Linked DNA regions of Homo sapiens: region 2 is linked to region 1. The links are contacts of gene promoters, found by promoter capture Hi-C in human tissues and cell types (Jung and others, 2019). All regions are on one chromosome and are shown on one strand. Each heading gives the region's core, a stretch centred on a gene start or on the middle of the fragment in contact. The rest is flanking DNA. Distances are from core to core; before and after follow the strand shown. Region 1 holds the start of MYRF (myelin regulatory factor). Region 2 has its middle 14 kb from the start of RAB3IL1.

Region 1 (2,700 bases), core at 16-2,515:
CAAGTTGGGCAGGACAGAGATGTGGAGGCAGTCAGTCATAAGGGTGAAGGCAGGGGCACAAGGACAACCGCTTTATCCTGGACTTATATCGAGTTAGAACCTCCAGGTTTCATTATACCAGACAGGGCCACGGCAAAGGAGAGTTCGGATTCCCGGGGCAGCCAGGATTTGGCTCTGAACTTTAATGACCTTGAAACTCTTAGGCAGGGCGGGGAGCGGTGGCTCATGCCTGTAATCCCAGCAGTTTGGGAGGCCAACGTGGGCTGATCACCTAAGGTCAGGAGTTCGAGACCAGCCTGGCCAACATGAGGAAACCCCGTCTCTACTAAAAATACAAGTTAGCCCAGCGTGGTGGCGCCTGTAATCCCAGTTACTGGGGAGGCTGAGGCAGGAGAATCGCTTGAACCGAGGAGGCAGATGTTGCAGTGAGCTGAGATCGCGCCATTGCACTCCAGCCTGGGCGACAGAGCCGAACTCCATCTCAAAAAAAAAAGGAGCTTTTAGACCTGCATTGTCCAATACCACAGCCACACGTAACTGTTTAATTACAATTAAACAAAATGAAAAAATCAGTTCCTCAGTCTCAATAGGCACATTTCCAGTGCTCACTTGTGGCCAGTGACTACCATACTGAACAACACAGGGAACATTTCCATCATCACAGCCACAGGACAGGGCTTCCTGGCAGTCCTTAATGCATTGAGCCTCAGTTTCCCCATCTGTAAAATGCAGGTAACAACAGCATCTCCTTGATAAGGTGCCTGTGAGGAGTACATGAGATAATGCCTGTGTGGCCTGGCACATAACACACGTTCCCTAAATGCAGGTTGTTATTGTTGCTGAGCGGGGTGTGTGGGTGGCTAACGAGAGGGATGGGGGCTGTCTCTGAGGTTTGGATTCGGAATCGTGACATCTTGTCCCGTGCAAGACGAAGGCGAGGACGGCGAGGGCACACCCTTCCAGTCCCGACCCCACAGAGGCCAAGCGGCCCTTCGCCCCCACCCCGACCCGGGAAGGCCCCGCGCCCCTCAAGCCTGGGACGGTCTCGCGTCCCCCGACCCGGGACGGCCCCGCGCCCCGCAAGCCTAGGACTGCCCAGCGCTGAGCGCCGCCTGCAGGAGTCGGGAGCGTGGTGCCCGCGGCCGGGCTGGGCGCGGCGCGGGCCGGCAGGGGGCGCTGGGCGCGGCGGGCGGGGCGCGTGGGGCGGGCAGGGGCCGGGCCAGGGACGCGCGGGGGGCAAGCGCGGCGGCGGACCGGGCGGGACCGTAGCCGGAGCCCAGCCGGGACTGTCGCGCGGGCCGCGCCGGCGATGCCGCGCCCCCGGGCCGGGCTGTAGCGGGGCCGCGGCTGGAGTGTGCGCCGGGCAGGCGGGACATGGAGGTGGTGGACGAGACGGAGGCGCTGCAGCGCTTCTTCGAAGGTGAGAGACCGCGGGCTGGCGGCGGCGACCCTCTGGCGCTGGGAACCCCCGGCTGATCTCCCCGGGAACTGGGGCTCCTCGCTGTGTTTCCGCCTCCTCTGGCTGGGACCCTCCTTCAGGCTGGCACCAGCCCGCCAAGACAGGCTCCCGGGGCTGGGAGTCCCCCAGCGGTTACCACCCACCGCCGCTGAAGTTGGGCTCCCCCTCCCCGCTCCTCAACTCGCAGCTTCCTTGGGACTGTGTCCCCTTCCAGGTCCGGACTCCTTTGAGCCTTCCAGGACCCGGAACTTTCCCTAAATTGTGACACTCTCGCCCCCAGCAAACTTCCCGAGTCTGGGGACCCTCTACTTTGCTTCCCCAGAACCCCAAGCGGGATACAACCCCATTCAAGGCCCAGACCCCCGGTGTGCCTTCTAGGACCTTCCGTACCTCTTGAGGCTGGACCCCAGCCTGCTTCCCAGAATCTGTGACCCCCGCCTAGAGACCAAGACCCCCTGTGTGCCCTTCTGGTTGGCGCCATCCCCCATGACTTCTAGGAGCTGGGACCTCCCCACTGTGCTTCCATGAGGGTAGGACCACTTTCGAGCCTGGATCCCCTTGGAGACTGCCACCTGCTTTCCACAATGCTGCCTAGTGACTGCTCTCCTGTTTGGGGCTGGGACCCCCCTCCCTAGCATGCTCTCCTGGGGCTGGAACCTTCTTGAAGCTGACATCCCTGCCACCGGTCACCTCTGCTCTCTGAGACCCTTCTAGTGCTGTGAACTGCATCCCACCAGCCCTCTGAGGCTCCTCAGCACTATGTCCCCCCAACCCTGGAGCTGTGCCTCTCTGACCTCGCCCCCTCAAAGAGTGACCTCACCCCCACTTGACCGAAAGGAGCCCTCTGGGGTGGAATTGACATACACCCCATAATATCTTCTTCTGCCCCCACCCCTACATTGGTTTTGGAGGTCTGCTCCTCCATCTAACCAACTCCCTGTCTTTTCCTGGACGACCCCTGCCCCTCCTGCAGGGCCACCACTCCTCCTGGTGCTGGGTTCTGGAGGGATGGGACCGCAGTGGGAGGGGGAGGGGAAGTTCTGGCTGACTGCCTCCCAGCCCACTCCGCTTCTCAGAACCTCCCTGGAACATCTAGCCAGACCCTCTGGCCCCCTTTTGTGCCCCTGTCTACCAATGCAGCGAGCCCAGCCCCTGCCCCGAGCTCCCTCTAGTCCCTAAGGCCACATCCTGCTCCTTGGTGCATTGAGAACCTTCCCTTCATGTGTGAACCTATCAGGGCT
Region 2 (2,700 bases), core at 32-2,531, 180 kb after region 1:
CACTTGAGCTCAGGAGTTCAAGACCAGCCTGGGCAACATGGGGAGACCCCATCTCTACAAAAAATCAAAAATTAGCCAGGCGTGGTGGTGCAGGCCTGTAGTCCCAGCTACTTGGGAGGCTGAGGCAGGAGGATCACTTTAGCCTGGGAAGTCAAGGCTGCAGTGAGCTGTGATCATGCCACTGCACTCAGTCTGGGCAACACAGCAAGACCCTGTCTTAAAAAGACCAAATTAATAACAAACTTTAAGACGAAAAACATTATTAGTGTAGAGGTGGTCACTATGCAGTAATAATAAAGTGATGACAATGTTTAAAAAAAATTCACCAGATAGATATAACCATCTAAATTAATATGTGCCTAATAAAATAGCCTAAAATATTTAAAGCAAAAATAATTAAAGCTACAGGGGAAAATAGACACATCTATCATTATGGTGTGAGATGTCAACAAATGTCTCTGAACTACGGCTACATCAAGGCAGCAAAACATCAGGAGCTGGTGGCAGCAGAGACCACTGGCCTTGGTAGTAACTGAAGTATAGAGCACTAGATCAAAGCGAACCGATAAGCAATTTGATCCCTAGGTCCCCTCCTCTACTCCATGCCACTGGCCAACTGCCCCTTTCTTAGTCTAGCATAACACTGGAGATTTATTCTCTGGAGAAGGCAAAACAGAAGGTCTTTGGGCCAGTAGCTGAATAAGAGGGTTAAGTGATTATATACACACTGAAATCCAAGACCTCCAACCCTCTTCTGTCACTTGTCAGCCAAAGTGGCAACTCACTCAGTCACCAGGAGGGTAAAGACAGACTTTTACCCTCCAGACAGCCCCTCTATGGGACTCTGGCCAACCCAAGAAGAGAGATCTAAGACGAATGTTACCCAACAAAATATCCATCCAGCTCAAAGTCAACATGCTTGCCATCAGTTTTTAAGATCTCGCTCTTAATAATGAGCAATCAAGGATTATTAGACAACTAAGGAGAACCTCTACCTTAAGAGAGACCAAACCCAGTAAGCAGAAGAAAAGCAACTTGCAGGAAACAGAGACTCTGTAGAAAAAAGAAGAGGAGGTGAAGAGGAGGAGGAGGAGAAGGAAGGCAAGGAGGAGGAAGAAGGAGAGGCATTAATAACCTCAGGATGAGAAAAGAAGGTATTGCATTCATGAAATAATAACCTGATTCTATGAAAGTAAACATTCACAGAACAACAAAAACTATTGGAAAATAATATATTTTTTAAAAGCATGATGGTAGAAATGAAAACAATGAGTAAGGTTGGAAGACACAGTTGAGGGAATATCCTTCAGAAAGAAAGAAATGGAAAATAGTGAAAAGATTAGAAAAGTAGAGAATCAATTTAGAAGATTCAATATCTGAATAAAGAAGCAACAGAAGAAAATGAATGAACTGGCCAGGCATGGTGGTTCACACCTGTAATCCAAGCACTTTGGGAGGCTGAGGCAGGCAGATCACAAGGTCAGGAGTTTGAGACCATCCTGGCTAACATGGTGAAACCCCGTCTCTACTAAAAATACAAAAAATTAGCTGGGCGTGGTGGCGGGCGCCTGTAGTCCCAGCTACTCGGGAGGCTGAGGCAGGAGAATGGCGTGAACCCGGGAGGTGGAGCTTGCAGTGAGCCGAGATCTCACCACTGCACTCCAGCCTGGGAGACAGAGCGAGACTCTGTCTCAAAAAAAAAAAGAAAAGAAAATGAAGGGGGTAAAGCATCAAATAAATAATTCAAGATTATTTCCCAAAACTGAAGTATATGAGTTTTCAAATTGAAAAAGACCACCTTAGCTGGACATGGTGGCTCACATCTGTAATCCCAGCACTTTGGGATTCTGGTTTATAAAAAAATTAGTGTTATACTGTAAGATTTTTTATTTGCTTATATCAGTCTTCAAAAATATCCATTTTAATAGTTCATTCATTCAGCAGTTATTTGTTTGGTATTTCTTTGCCTGACAGTCACTCTTCCAGGCACAGGGTGTATAGCAATGAGCAAAACAAGGCCCTGCCCTATGAGGTTTACATTCTAAGCTTTATAGGGCTTACAATGTAATAAAAGACATTAAAAAGAAATAAAAGACATAAATAAAAGAGAAATCAAAGACATAAATAGAAAATAGTGATAAAGTCTTCTAGAACTTTTTTTTAACTCAACATTATATCCAAGACTTACCTTATTTTATGTAACTATAGTTCATTTTTTTTTTTTTTTTTTTTGAGACGGAGTCTCACTCTATCGCCCAGGCTGGAGTGCAGTGGCACAATCTCAGCTCACTGCAACCTCTGCCTCCAGGTTCACGCAATTCTCCTGCCTCAGCCTCCTGAGTATCTAGGATTACAGGCTTGCACTACCATGCCCAGCTAATTTTTGTATTTTTAGTTGAGACAGGATTTCACCATGTTGGCCAGGCTGGTCTCAAACTCCTGACCTTGTGATCTGCCTGCCTCAGCCTCCCAAAGTGCTTGGATTACAGGTGTGAACCACCATGCCTGGCCAGTTCATTCATTTTTATTGCTGTATAATATTCCATGATAGGACCATAACTGTGGTAGGATAAAAATGGCCTCTCAAAGATATTGAATCCTAATCTTTGAAAACTGTAAATGTTACCTTATATGAAAACAGAGTCTGTAAAGATGTAATTAAGTTAAGGACCGTGAGATGGGGAGATTATTCCAAATTAT

The links. The method cuts DNA at HindIII sites, captures the fragments that hold promoters and counts their contacts. A contact is called where the count stands out against the background at its distance.
Region 2: a contact is called between a fragment that was not itself captured here and the fragment with the promoter of MYRF in region 1, in 1 of the 25 tissues and cell types used here (spleen).

The regions. Positions count from the first base shown.
Region 1 is chr11:61,751,371-61,754,070 of GRCh38, forward strand. MYRF (myelin regulatory factor) reads left to right here and starts at 1,266. Exons shown (of 27, transcript NM_001127392.3): 1 at 1,266-1,420. The coding sequence starts at 1,375. It overlaps MYRF-AS1 (MYRF antisense RNA 1), which reads right to left. Exons shown (of 4, transcript NR_026882.1): 4 at 2,659-2,700. RefSeq lists silencers at 1,056-1,195, 1,316-1,415. The HindIII fragment of the contact is 21,501 bases long and covers 1-2,700 here.
Region 2 is chr11:61,930,558-61,933,257 of GRCh38, forward strand. It overlaps a transcript of RAB3IL1 not described here. Among named protein-coding and RNA genes, the nearest start is that of RAB3IL1, 14 kb to the left of the region's middle. The HindIII fragment of the contact is 6,912 bases long and covers 1-2,700 here.